Linked DNA regions of Homo sapiens: region 2 is linked to region 1. Evidence: promoter capture Hi-C in 16 types of primary human blood cells and fetal thymus (Javierre and others, 2016). All regions are on one chromosome and are shown on one strand. The core of a region is centred on a gene start or on the middle of the fragment in contact, and the rest is flanking DNA. Distances in the headings are between cores, read along the strand shown.

Region 1 (7,351 bases), core at 460-2,959:
AAAATAGAAATTATTCAGATATATTTCACAAATAGTGTCTGTTTGGCTGAAGTGTAATATCTGTGGAGAGAAGTAATGGAAAATAAGTTTGGAATGATACACTGGTGCCCAACAGTAGGGATATTATCTTTCAAATTGAGGTTTTCAAATTTAAGCTATAGATTCAAACTTCAATAAAGAAGTTCTGGACATCATGCACATAGACGTCGGAGATAAGGCAGAATCTCAACTGCTGTAGAAGAATATTTAAAACAGCTTTCCTTATGCACCTATGTTAAAGTAAAGCACTTGTTTGCTTCAGAGGAAATTTTCAGCATTTTATGTATGAGCACATATCCACCTAAAACATTATTTGAGCACCTGCTCTAGCAAATATTGGTATTCTGTGTATCCAGAATCCATTTTCCTGCTTAAAATATCGTGACTTTCTTGGAGAATGATCTCTTTCTTGGAGAATAGATTGGTGGGAGAAGAGTGTCTAGTTCCTGTACCCTCTCCACCCACAAGTCTATGGAAGCTGAGGCAAGGATAACCTTTCCTTCCCTGCCCCCTAAGGAAGAGAAATCTATACAGAGAGATTCATGGAGGTATATAGAGAGGCAGGCATGAGTCCTAAGCTCAGCCAACAAAAAGTTCTCACTCCCCTAAATTTGAATCTGCAAGGGATGGAAAGAAGCATCAAGGCTTGGAGCTCATTTGCTATAGCAGGGAAATGTTGGTGGGGCCATTCCAGACATGACATGGTTCTTTGCTTCCGACTTCTGTTCCTTAGCCCTCTGAAGTGCTCCTGGTTCCTGCATTTTGCCCAGTTTCCTTTTGATTCTGCAAACCTCTTGATATCCTTTCAATTACCTCTTTTGTTTCCCTTCAAGTTAGCCTGAACTGGTGTCTATAATGAAACATAACTGATACCTCTAGCTTGTGAGAGATACTCTTCCATGGACAGTAGAGTGAACAAGAGAGAAGTCACTGACCTCACAAAATTATAAATGTTAAAGAGTATGGGGAATAAAGCACCCTCAATAATAAAAGAGAGGTCCACAACATTTCAATAAAAACCAAAAAGTGTTATAAAAAATTATCAGGAAATGAATAATGCAGAGGAAACACTGCCACAAAATTTAACTTAGCAGAAAATGAAGCAACTACCAAGGCATCCATTTTTAATTATTTTTGTTCTTGCTAACAATAGTAATAAACATCTGGAATTATTGGTACATAGGATGAAAGAGATCTTAGGGCTGTTTTTGTTCCCCTGTTGCATGTTACTGACTAGGAAGTTGAGGCCTGGGGAGGAGAAGTGGTCTCTGAATTCTCACATCCAGGAAGTGACAGAGTGAGACTTTGTGCAGTATTCTAACTCTGCATACCACCTCACACACCACAGCTGCTCTGGCTGGCGGCCACAACCCCTTTTGTGTGTATGAGCACACATTTAGTTTGCTTAATGTTTTTGATAGAGTCAGAAACATTTTTCTTACAAACACGTTTGTCCTTATAAACACATTACTGATTTTCTGTTCAGATAATGGTCACTTTTTATCTGAATAATGTATGAGCCTGGCTAAAGCTGGACAACGTTGTGTCCAGGAGCCAGTATGCTGACTTTCAAGTTAATTGCAACAACCACTTCTTTTTAGGTCCCTCGTTGGCTGCTCGTCAGATTTCTCTCTTCAATTCCAAGCGCATCTTATGTAAACAATAGTGTCTATGATAGTGGATGTGATTGTGTGCTACCTGGATCTCCTAGCTGAAATCCTTCGAAGAATTTCCTTCAGTCAATGGGAGCCACCTCCCCTGAGGTTATGGCTCCAGGTGAAGATTAAACAGCTGTAGAAGTGTCATCCAAGATTGGCCAGTGAGTAGTATGAAGGCCTGCCCCTGCTTGTCCTGTTTCCTTGACACAGCTCCCAAGAGCCATCTCAGCTCCCAAGCACCCTAAAGGATTGGCTGAGGCCTTTATTGAGACTGCATTGCAGCACAATTTCTCCCTCTCTCTAATTCTGCTGCCATCTCTCCCTTACAGATGCTGTTCCTGAGAGTCCTTCCTGGAGAGCCATCTGCACACAGATCTCAGTCTCAGAGTCTATTTCCCAATGAATCTAATCTGAGAGATCTCTTCATTTGCTGTTTTTTCCCTGTATGAAATAGTTACTTTGTTTTACTTTATTTTATTAAGTTCAGTGGTACATGTGCAGGTGTGTTATATAGGTAAATTGTGTGTCATGGGGGTTTGGTGTACAAATTATTTCGTCACCCAGGTAATAAGCATAGTACCTGATAAGTAGTTTTTCAGCCCTCTTCCTCCTTCTCACCCTTCACCCTCAAGTAGGCCCTGGTGTCTTTTGTTCCATTCTTTGTGTTCAAATGTTTAGCTCTCACAAGTGAGAACATGTGATATTTGGTTTTCTGTTCCTGTGTTAGTTCACTCAGGATAATGGCCCCCAGCTCCATCCATGTTGCTGCAAAGAACATGATCTTGTTTCTTTTTATGATTGCATATTATCCCATAGGTTATATGTGTCACATTTTCTTTATCCAGTCTACTGTTGATAGGCATTTAGGTTGATTCCATGTCTTTGCTCTTGTGAATAGTGCTGCAATGAACATATGCGTATATGTGTCTTTATGACAGATCTATTTATATTCCTCCTGGCATATCCCCAGTAATAGGATTGCTGGGTCAAATAAGAATTCTGTTTTAAGTTATTTGAGAAATTGCCACACTGTTTTCCACAATTGCTGAACTAATTTATGTTCCCCCCAACAGTGTATAAGCATTCTCTTTTCTCTGCAACCTCACAAGCATCTGTTATTTTTTGACTTTTTAGTAATAGCCATTCTGACTGGTGTGAGATGGTATCTCATTGTGGTTTTGATTTTCATTTCTCTAATGATCAGTGATTTTAAGCATCTTTCATATGCTTGTTCACTGTATGTTTTCTTTTGAAAACTGTTTGTGTCTTTTGCCCACTTTTTAATGGAGGCTGTTTGTTTTTTGCTTGTTAATTTGAGTCCCTTATAGATTCTGGATATTAGACCTTTGTTGGATGCATAGTTTGCAAATATTTTCTCCCATTCTGTAAGTTGCCCTTTTTACTCTATTTGTTTCTTTTGCTGTCCTCATCCACTCTTAATTCTATGATAATTTCTGATGGCCAAATAATGTTTTACCTTCTTTAAGATTGCTATTTGTGTTGCTAAGAACATCAGAGATAAGATCCTAAATCTTTAGACTTGTTTCTTGAAGTAAGCAGAAAACAGTGGCTAGTGTGCACAAAATTCACATTTCCTAGAGATGTAAAGAGCCTTAGAAGCTGTCCCCTCCTCAAATACTTCCTGATGGTTTTGTGTGTGCTGTGAGCTCTGGTGGGCATTTTCACCTTTGTTGTTTCTCATAATTACCCTGTTAACATTTAGGTTATTATCCTAGTTTTATAGTTGATAAAACCAAGGCCCAAATATGTGAAGTGACTTATCAAGGATTAAACAGATGAAGAAGTGTCATCATTTTCTACTAAATGATAACCTGTGATTTATGAATCAGATTTCCCATTTTATAGATGGTAAAACTAAGGCTCAGATACAGATGCTAAGTGATAGAACCAGGATACCGATTCACTCTTTTGCTGGCCTACAAACCCTTTATACTCTATTCTTACCTCCCCATCATGTTCTACCTTTTTTCAGATGAGAAAACTAAGGCAAAAAAAAAAAAAGAAATCTCAAATGTTTTTTCCCATGTCATATAGATAGACTGGTGGTGTTGAGTCTAGGCTCCAGATTTTCTATCTCCCACTCCACACCACCACCTAGCTGTCCTGCTCAGCATGCTCAGAATCTGTAGGACTCCAGCTGCCTTTTCCAAACCTGGTCGGTGCAATGGCATTCTCACTTTGACTGCAAAACTCCTCACCAAATATAAAACTGAAAATGTAGGCCACCTGTCCATGTGATTGTATTTCATAACTTAGAGCTAAAAATAGCTCTCAGCTTGCTTGGCCTGTATATAACATATTAAAAGCTCAAATTCAAATTCACTCGCATCTTGGATTAATGTTAAGATTATGGCTTTCCAGACTTCTTTCTCTCACATTCTATCTCACCCAGCAGGGAATGGATTGTGCTTGTCCACATTATTTTCTATGTGAATTACTGAGCTCTTATTTTCAAAGATGAATTTCGTGACCTTATGCTCTTTGCTGTACCTGCAGAATTCATTTTGGAGGGCACAGACTCTAGAACCAGACAGCAGGGTAAGGCTGGGTATCTGTGGCCAAGGCATGAAAATTTTGCCTTGATTTCTTCATCTGTGAAATGGAGACGAAATCATACATATTTCCTGAGGCTGTTTTGAGAAGTAAACACACTAATTCATGGCTAGTGTTTAGCTAAAATCTGGACACACACACAGAGTGGACAAATATGATAATTAAAAGCAAAAATCAACAAAATAAAAAATCACCACCGCATAGCATGACCAATTTGTCCTAGTTTGCCTGGAACAATCTGTTTTCTCACTGAAAGCCCCAAATCTCAGAAAATTTCTTAATTCTGGGCAAATTGGAACGGTTGTTTACTCTATTCACCACCAATGAAACAAACAAAAGGTTCTGAGTAATTCATTTATTCAAGAAGTGTTTATTTATAACTAATAAATTCTAGACAGTGTGATGGTATTTTAAAGGTAAACATGACAAAAATGTATCCTCATGGAACACTCAAGCTAATGAGAGAGAATTATGAAAATGGGAAAATTGTATATGTGCTGTCCTGAAAACTGGCATGAAATGGACAAAGAGTGTAATTCTGAGATGCATTGTATTCAGTGGGACACAATCCAGGAATTTCATGGATTACACACTTCTGTCTAATGCTACTTTTTTTTTTCCCCAAGCAAAATGCTATGGGGAGTTAACAGGGTTACATATGAAAAAGCTTTCCATAAGCAGGTAAGTTAAACAGCTTGCTGTTACATTACTACAGTACTTCTCAGCATCTTTAATAGCCTACTGAACACTTAAATCTCAGATGGGGATGTTTTAAGTATTATTTCTGAACTTTTAGACTTTTCAACAACATAGAATTTTTTTAAAACTCATGTGATGGTACCAATATTCCGTAGGGCTTTGACAGAAGGAAAATCTAAGTGGTATTAGGCATTGAACACAGAAAGCTCAAAGTAGGAAGAAAAGTGCCAAACCCCAACTCCTCATAAATAGAGACAGAAGTCATGCTTCAGTCATCAGAGCCAGAGCTGTGGTTCTTAACCGTTTTTCTTTTGGTTCATGAGCCTTGTTTCAGAATTTAATGAGCACATGGATGCATAGAGGATAAGAAGCTTCAATCAAGAGCCTTGAAATTCACAGAGCATGCTGAAGAGATGCTAAGTCTTCTTAGGAATTGAAAAATCTTCTCTAAGTGAATTTTGATCCTTCCTATCAGCAGAGATGGAAAGAACCTGCAGACTGAAATAAATACTAACACAAGAAAGAAATTCCACGTGTGGACTAGCATGGGATAATAGTGTAGAATGCATAGAAGCAGGACTTAGATGAAATATAGTAGTCACTTTCATATATGGAGTGCTTACTATTACATGCTTTATCTTATTTAATCAAGAGATATTTATCCTGGTATTTAGGCTGTGGCTTCTGAAATCAGACTTCTTGGTTTTGAATATTGTTTTTGCCATTTACTGGTGATGCAACCTGGAAGAAATTACTAAAATACCTCTAAGTCTTGTAATTCCCATCTCTAAAGTAGCAATCATAAGACAGTAGTATCTTTTTCATCAGGCTTGTAGAGGTTTCATGACATAATTGCTGCAGGCTGATTTCTAACTCATAGTAAAGCTCAGTAAATATTACCTAATGTTTTTCATATTATTATTAGGTGGATATTATTCTTAGCATTTTCATTTCATGGAAGAGGTAACTGAGAACAGGAGTGATCTATAGCAGACTCTTCCTATCAACCCCATTTAGGGGTTCATTATTGGGGAGAAACAGGAAAGCAGTGTCATATATTTCAGCCTCATTTTTCTCTCAGAAGAAATTATATTAATAAAATAATGTTCTTGGTCTCTTTCTAAATTATTTTTCTCTGAGTCATCCTTTATGCAAGTGATATTTATAACTTTGTGAATCACACCCACACTTGTGTGGGTTCTCTCCTTGGGTCATATGTATTTTTAGTGTGTCTTTATATTTTGGGGACACGGGGAGATGTTCTTTATAACAGATATGTAACTTAAGATACTCTCTTCTGATTTAGGAGGGACCTTCATATCCCAGGACCTGCTGAAGTCATTCCGAACAGGTTTAAGTTGCCTCTGGTCTGTCCTCTGTCCCACCTACACAGCACAAGTAAAAAGGAGAGAGAGAAACCACTGAAACAAAAACATTCTGTATTTTAAAGTCAGAAGCAAAAGTCTTTATTTCCTTTTTTTTTCTTTCTTTTTTTTTTTTTTGAGACGGAGTCTTGCCTTGTCGCCCAGGCTGGAGTGCAGTGGCGCGATCTCAGCTCACTGCAAGCTCTGCCTCCCGGGTTCACGCCATTCTCCTGCCTCAGCCTCCCAAGTAGCTGGGACTACAGGCGCCCGCCACCACGCCCGGCTAATTTTTATATTTTTGTAAAGAGAGGGTTTCACCCTGTTAGCCAGGATGTTCTCGATCTCCTGACCTCGTGATCCACCCGCCTCGGCCTCCCAAAGTGCTCGGATTACAGGTGTGAGCCACCGCCCCCAGCCTCCTTTTTCTTTTTTTCTTTTTTAAAGATTTTGATAAGAACACAACATGAAATCCATCCTCTTCATAAATTTGTAACTGCACAGTACAGTATTGTTAACTATAGGTAAAATGTTGTATAGCAGATCTTGCATAACTGAATTTTTTTTTTTTTGGAGGCAGGATCTCACTCTGTCCCCCAGGCTGAAGTGCAGTGGTACTATCATAGCTCACTGTAACCTCGAACTCCTGGGCTAAAGCAATCCTTCCACCTCAGCTTCCCAAAGAGCTAGGATTTCAAGTGTGAGCCACTGCAACTGGCCTCATAATGGAAACTTTATACCCTTCGAGCAACTCAGCATTGCCCCCTCCCCCTGCCCCTAACAACCACCATTCACTGTCTGTTTCTATGAGTTTGGCTATTTTAAATACTTTATAAAAGTGGAATCAAGTAGTATTTGTCCTTCTGTGATTGGCTTGTTTCACTGAGCGTAATGTCCTCCAGGTTCATCCATGTTGTTGCATATGGCAGAGTTTTCTTCTTCTTAAAGGCAGACAGTATTCTACACAGGTTTGAGCTTCTTCTGATTTCTTCTCTGTCCAGCCTATGTGACACAGCAAGA
Region 2 (7,351 bases), core at 1,717-4,216, 1.0 Mb after region 1:
GACCAGGTCTCTACAGCTCGCCTTCATTGTCTTTCTCAGAAGCCTTCATTTCATCCCTCCACTACTTCATGGACAGAGGAAAGCCCTTTGTAGCAGCCTCCCCCACCCTCTCTGCTCACCCCCTCCTCTAAAGTCAGCAGGGGATGGCTAGAGCTGCAGGGGAGAGTACAGCAGGGTAGGAGGAAACCAAGAAGCACCTATTTTGTCCTAGGCACTGCATTTGTACAGGTTAACTTCTTTATACATTGAACACAACACACATAATCCCCTGGAGGTCAATATTGTGGCCCCCAATTTGCAGATGAAGGAAGGGAGCCCCAGAAACATGACACAGTGGCCTCAGGTCATGCAGCTAGTACAAGGTGGAACCCAGATTGGAAAAGAGGGACATCAAGCCCATGTCAGAGAGACACTCTGATCTTTCTTTAAGAGGTGGCCACATCCTCCGCAGAAACCACGCCTGAATGTGTGAGACACTGCCCTTGAGGTAAAGACAGGAGAGAAATTGCACCCAGGTGCCTAGGGCTGGGCCAGCCACAATGCTGAGTCTGTTTGGCTATTCAGGGTCAAGGCAAGGAAGGGACTCCAGCTCTCTCTGCAACTTTCACCTCCTAGGCTTCCAGTTGCGGTTGTTCTAGAGTAGTGATTACATGTGGGAGTCAAGAAGAGATGACCCCTGTCCAGAATATATGGCCAGAACTGACCAGGGGAGGGAGCCAAGAGAGGCCAGAACATGGTATTGATCCCGGAAGGCTGAAGTGTCCAGAGCCAAAAGTATCTGTTCACTGAGGGACCACTGTCCAGGACTCTGGCTATCAAACCTTGGAGTACCAAGGCTCAGAAACAAAGTTCTCAGCCCACAGGCCACTCTTTGGGCCGGAGGCCCCTGTAGAAGAAGGAACTTGAGGAGAAGAAAACTGGACCCAAAGTAGGGGGCAGGATCCAGGCTACCCACCCACAGGGCAGAGTCGCTGGTGCAGAGTGGTCCCAGGAAAGGATGCTCCCTGGAAAGGCAGCAGAGGCCTCTCGCTCTGGAAGGAGGGGCACAGGGTCCCAGACGAGAAGCAAGGGCTCCACACCCAACGGGCTGCTTCAGGGAAGGGCTGGGGCCTGCGGGCAGATGCTGAGGGGGCAGGGGCTGAGGAGGTGGGAGCTGAGGAGTGGGATGGAGGTGGTGGTGATGCCAGTGACGCAGGGGCCTGGGGAGGCACTGACGCGGGTGACGGAGGTTTAGAGCTGCTGCAAACAGCTTCTCACTCTGCCAGAATGTAACACCCCAAAATAAGCAGCCACCGTGGTGGCGGCAGCGGCTGCAGAATCCAACGTCCAGGCCGGATAAATAAATGGCAGCACAGGAGCCAGCCTGTTTGCCCACCCTCGGAGGCTGTCACTCCCCTTCCAAAGTCCTCACCCTCTGTCCCTCACAGCCACCCCCAGGGCCCTGAGCTCAAAGCACCCCCCATCTGGCCCACCAGCCACTCCCTGAGAGAAGAAATGTGGCAGGCAGGCGCTTTGGGAATGGAGGGCTTCCCACGTGGAAGTGGTTACCAGAAGCCTCTTTGTCTCATCCCTGGGCAGCACCCCCAATCCCCAGTCCCTCTCTCTCAGCCTTTCTCTTCCTCCTCCTCTTCCCTCCTCTCCAGCCCCTCTCCCATCCATGGTTCCCTGTCTCCAACCCTCTTCGCCGGTTCCTGATACCCCTTCTCTAGTCACCATCCCCATCCTTCTCTGGTTTCTGATCTTTCCATTCTCCTTTTCCATTCCAGTCCCCAGGGTCCCAGTCCTGATTCTCTTTCCCGCTACCTCCATCCCAGGATTCTGGGTCCCTGTCCATAGTCTTCTTCCCATCCCTCCCCTGATCTGGTCTTTCCTCTCCTTCCCTCTTCCTTGGTCTTCACCTGGGTCCCACTTCCCTCCACGCTTTTCCCATCTAACCTTTATTCCTTCTCCCCCTCCCCCGCTCCATCTCCCTCCTCCTTTGAGCTTCCCTCACCACTTTCTCCATCTTTGAGTTCTCCTTCCTATCCCTCTCCCCCTGACCCCTCCCCACCCCACCCCCAGTCTCTGGCCCACACCCTTATCTGTCACTCAATCAGTAGAACTATCCTCTTTCTAGCGCCCTCCATCTCTCCTACCAGAGAGGGCCACTTGGATTTCCCTCTGCGCCTCCTACCTCCCCAGACAGCCCCCTACCCACATCTCCTGTCTTCCCAGGTGGCCAGAAAGTGCTGAGGCACCGGGCAGGAGGAGTTGCTGAGTCGGCGCTTCCCCAGCCGGCCCGAGTCCTCAGCGTCCCCCGGAGCAGGTGGAGCGGGGACAGCGGAACCTGAGCCTCCCTCCCCGCTCCGGGCCGGGTCCACCTGCCCCCTGCGTCCCACCTCGGTCACGAGCTCCTCGCACGCGCCCGCGGGCTCCCAGCCAAGTGCCCTCCTGCTGAGAACAGCCCTGGCGGCGGGGGCGCGGCCCCAGCGCTGAGCTTTTCCCCTTCCCCAGGTTACCCCACCTCCCCAACTGCCCCACCCTCAATCCCTGAAAGAGGGGACGCCCTGCTTCTCTCCCCAGGATGCCCTCCGCTCTCCCGCCGCTGGCGTTCTTACCTTGCAGCAGGCGCCTGAGCCCGGGCAGCATCTTGTCTCGATGCTCGGGGGAGGGGGCAGCGGGGGGAGGGCGCTCCCACTCGCTCCCTGAGCCCGCCGGATGCACGGCGGGGACCCCGCGGGGCTCCGGGAGGGCCCGGGAGTCCCCGGGCTGCGTGGCCGGGCCGCGGCGCTCTACCCTGCGCCGCCCGGGCTGCGGGCCTCGGGAGGAGCCATCGGCCCCGACGGGACGGGGCGGGGCGCGACGGGGCGGGGAAGGCTGGGGCTGGCCGTCGACGCCCAGCGCCCGCGCCCCGCTAGCTGCGCTGTCCGCTCGAGAGTCCGTCAGTCCGTCTGTCCGTGTGCCCAGGCTGCTAGCCGAGGGAGAGTGGGGACAGCGAGGAAGCTCTTCCCAACCACCCCCACTCCTTCCCGCACTCGCTGGCTCCTCCCTCGTTTGCTGGCTTGCCGACTTAACCCTTTCTCGACCACTAGGAGGCGGGAGCGGCTTTCTAACCCCCTCCACCCCGCCCCCCTCCCCCCCGCTTAAGCGACCCGGAGGACTGTGTTCGATCGTCCTCGCGGCGCCACTCTTCTAGAGAAATCCCTTCTTGGGGGAATGCGGTAGTTTAGAGGAACGCCGTGGACTTGTCCTGTTCCCCCCTCCCAACTTTCCAGGAGAAGATGAGCTTCTGGGTCACCCCCTCCCCCGCCCCCAGCCGCGTCCCTCGCGCCAGTGTCCCAGCCTCCAGCATTTCTGTCCCCTGGGACAGCTCCAAGATTCCACTTTTCCTTCCACTCCCAGACCTCAAGCCCAGTGTGCGACTATAAGAATAGTATATGCAAGAGTTTGTGCGTGCAAGATCGAGTGCATATGAGCGTGCACGTGCGCGCAAGGATGCTTGTGCAGGTGTGACTCAGGATGCTTGCCCGTTACCCTTTGTACGGGCTTGGGGAAGCGGGGGGGGGGGCACGTGAGTGTGCACACGGGTGAGCCGCTGAAAGTCCGCCAGCGTGCATGTCTGAGCTGGTGGGAAACGTGAGGCTGTGCGAGGTTTTGCGCTTGCGATCTTGGGGATGGGTGGAAAGAAATATGTGCCCGGTGTGTGTATGCCCCTTAGTGCATTTACAAGCGGGTGCGAGATGGGCGCGCGTGCGAGTGTGTGCGTTTTTTTGTGTATGTATGATGTGTCCGGGAGGGGAGACCTTATCTCCCGCGGGGGTGCAGGAGAGGACCCAAAGCTGGGGAGAAGACTGTTGGCTTCGCGTGAACTTCCTCTACCCCCTTTTAAAGAGGGGCGGATTATGGTCTCACTGGAGCCCCTCTGGCCCTTCATGGCCTGGTCACAGGCGGTATCAGCAGACCCATCACCTAGGCACTTCCCTACAAAGGCTGCAGGGCGGTTGACCCAGGTCTTGACTCGGCCCGGCGCGTCCGCGGAGCCGCCCCGGCGTAGGATAGGCTCGGGGCCCTCGGGGGAGCCGCTTCGGGTACGGTGGCCAGGCAGCGCTGGCGGGGTTGGGGCTGCTGGAGCCTCAGGTGCGGCGGTGCCGGGGCTGCTGAGCCCCCTGGGCTGCCGCTCCCGCGAGCACAGAAGCCCCTCGCCCCGCTGCCCGCGCCGCGGCTCCTCCTTTCCTATCCGTGCCAGGGTCCAATGCAGTGCCTGGCATACAGTCGGCTCTTGATAAATGTTGGTCTTATTCTTCCCATTCATTCTCTGCTCCCTCCACGGTCTCTCGTTCTTCTCGCGTTCTCATTCGATTTCTCTGGTTTTCTCCCCCGACTCTTACTCATATTTCGTGGTCTCTGTCTCTCTGTTCCCTCCCTCCCTCACTCTCTCTCGGACCTTTTCTGTCTCTACTCGTCTGTTTCCCTGCCCGGTCTTCTGTCTTTCTCACTGTCTCTCTGTGTCTTCGTCTCTCTCCTCCTCCCCGCGGGGCTCCCTGCGTCTCTGTCTCTCGTCTCTGTGTGTCTCGGTGTCTCTGCCTCCCTTTCTCTCCCCCTCTTCCCCAGTTTCATTCCCAGGCTCCCGGCCCGTGGGCACCTCGGCTCTCGGGTGCCCCCTGCTGGTTCCATTTTCGGACCTTCTCGGCCCCCCAGCTCCTCTCTGTGCCCCTAAATTTCCTTTCCCGCCCCTCTCGTTTTCGGATCAGGTAGAAACAGAAAGAAAAGTCTCTGGGGCTCCCGTCTTCCCTCACCCAGGGCTCCCCCTATTTCCAGGAGGCAGGACAGGACCCTGCGTTTCCCCAGGACCCACCCCGACTAGGGCCTGCGCCTGGGGGGAGGGCCTGGAGGCGGCGGCGGGGAGGGAGTGTTGGGGGTAGCAGGGTGGGGTTTGGCGTCCTTCCCCGGAATGAGCCGCGGCACAATCTGTCGCTGGGTTTGTTTGCCGAGCTGCCTCCGGAGCGCAGTGGGGCTGGCTCCCGGGGAGCGAAATATCACAAGATGCGGAGACAGACGCTGAGGGGCGGGTGGGCGGCGGGCTGACTCAGGTGTGCTGTCATCGGTTCCCGGGGCCCGCGCTCTTCGGGGAGGGGTGGGAGGGGACCCCGGGCCCCCAAGGCAGGCGGAACCCCGAAGCTGGGGGGGAGCTCCTCCTCCTGGGACGAGCTGCGAGGAAAGGGAAGCCCCGTCCGGGAATCCCTGGCTCCAGGCAGTCGCAGCCCCTCTGCTCATCCCCGCCCCTTATACAGGTGTCACGGTTTCCCATAATTATCTGCTGACTCACCCCCTCCACCCCCAACTAGACTACCAGCTTTTTGAGGGCAGGGAACTCGTGTCATCCATTGTCGTGTTTCCAGCAGGTGCCCACTGAAGACTTTTAGGTGGCTGGCTGGTGGGTGGGTGGCTGGCTGGTCTCATTTTACAGTAGGTGCCACAATGCATTTGGTCTTCTCTGTAGAGCACTCTGACCCCTCTTACCTCCCCCCATCCACATTTGCTGTCCCCACCCCACCTAGCTCCGGTTAGGGTTGGGGGGAGGGGGGACGAATTGGAAATTTGAGTCTGGAGATCAGAGTTCTCCAGGTGACCCTAGACAATGTACTCCCCTTCCTTGTGCCTCAGTTTCCTCATCTGTACGGTGAGGCTACCCGGTCATCGCGAGGCTGCATTAAGTCTCCAGGCACCCCAGGCATGAGAAAGTGCTTGGTAAAATGAGGTGTGTTGGTGTGTGGAGGGGTGGTAGGTAGCTAATGTCGTTACTATTTTGGCAGTAATTCTTTGGTGGCAATGATTGTCCCAGTAGAATCAGACACATCATGCCTGAACATGAGTTGGGCTTCTGCAGTTAGACATTTTGAGATCGAGGACTCGGCCTCTGGCTGGACTCTTGGACACTGGGCTGGAGGCTTGGCCGGGCTTTGGTGTGCTGGGTCTTCAAGCCTTGGCCGCAGTGCTGGCCCGCCCTCTGGTGGCTCTAGGTGGATCTGCAGCCCCACGGGAAGCCAAGATCTCTGGAGATGGGCTCAGCGTCGGATTTTCCCTGAGAAGGAGGAGGACACCCGCCCCCGCCCACCCCATTGTCTGGAGAACAGCTGGCTTTGGAAAGGAGACCAGGTAGAAGGAGGGGTTTATTGGCACAGACTGGATGAGTCTGGACTTCCGAGTTCTCACTTACTAACAGCGCAGCTACTCTCAATGTGCCACCCAAGATCCCCCTTCCCTCTGGGCATACCCACCGAGTGAGTCCACAGAACCTCCCTGGCTCTTCCCTTCACCTCTTTGTCACCTTCACTGTGTAGAACACTTGGCGGTTAGTGTACGAGGTCCGGTGGCTCAATGGGCGAGAGCACAGGCTTTGATGGGTTTGTGCCCTGGCTCTGAAGCTCTCTAGCTAGGGAGGGGACCTTGGGCAAGTCGCTTACCTTTTCAAACCCCAGTTTTCCTATTCAGAAGATGGGAGGGGCTGGGCATGGTGGCTCGTGTTGGTAATCCCAGCAATTTGGGAGGCTGAGGCGGGCGGATTGCTTAAGACTAGGAGTTCAAGACCAGCCCTGTCGACTTAGCGAGACCCCTGCCTCAAAATTAACCAGTCAGTCAATCAATCAATCAATCAATAAAAGAAATTGGGGGGTGGTGACACTAGTTCCTAGCTCAAGTTTGAGGCCATCCCTGGTGACTTAGAAGGACCTTGTCTCAAAATAAATAAATAAATGAATAGATAGATAAATACATAGATAAATAAATAAATAAGATGGGAGGAAGAAGGACGATACTTGTTCCCAGCTCATAGAGTTGTTTGAGGCTTAAAAGAAACAAAGCATGAAAGAACATAACAGAGTAGCTGACCCTGTATTTGGTAAATGCTGATAATATTATTTTTACTTTTATCCTAGTGACTACCTGGAGAAATAGGCATTGCAGTCTAGAGGCAGAAAGAAAAATGATGATCTGCTGTCATTTATTTATTTATTTTGAGACAGTGTGTCATTCTGTCTCACTCTGTCATCCAGGCTGGTGTGCAGTGGCATGATCCTGGCTCACCGCAACCTCCGCCTCCCAGGCTCAAGCAGTCCTCCCACCTCAGCCTCCCAAGTAGCTGGGACTACAGGCAGACACCACCACGCCTGGCTAATTTTGGTAGAGGTGGGGGTCTCACTATGTTTCCCAGGCTGGTCTCGAACTCCTGGAATCAAGCAATCTGCCTGCCTTGGCCTCCCAAAGTGCTGGGATTGCAGGTGTGAACCACTGCACCCAGCACCTGTGGTCTCATAAGGAGTGAGTGGCAGAGCCAGGTCTGGGGGTCAGTTCTTAGATATGACTTCCTACCCAC

What was found. Contacts are between HindIII fragments. The CHiCAGO score rates a contact against its expected background, and 5 or more counts as called.
Region 2: the fragment with the promoter of RTN4RL2 here is called in contact with a fragment that was not itself captured in region 1 in 1 of 17 cell types (total B cells); the score reaches 5.3 in total B cells.

What each region holds. Positions count from the first base shown.
Region 1 is chr11:58,492,680-58,500,030 of GRCh38, reverse strand. LOC105369313 (a long non-coding RNA gene) reads left to right here. Exons shown (of 5, transcript XR_007062673.1): 4 at 1,641-1,858; 5 at 2,027-6,095. Among named protein-coding and RNA genes, the nearest start is that of OR5B21, 12 kb to the left of the region's middle. The HindIII fragment of the contact is 6,463 bases long and covers 1-4,940 here.
Region 2 is chr11:57,456,143-57,463,493 of GRCh38, reverse strand. RTN4RL2 (reticulon 4 receptor like 2) reads right to left here and starts at 2,966. Exons shown (of 3, transcript NM_178570.3): 1 at 2,598-2,966. The coding sequence starts at 2,628. RefSeq lists an enhancer at 716-1,254 and silencers at 2,690-2,959, 4,059-4,118. The HindIII fragment of the contact is 14,932 bases long and covers 1-7,351 here.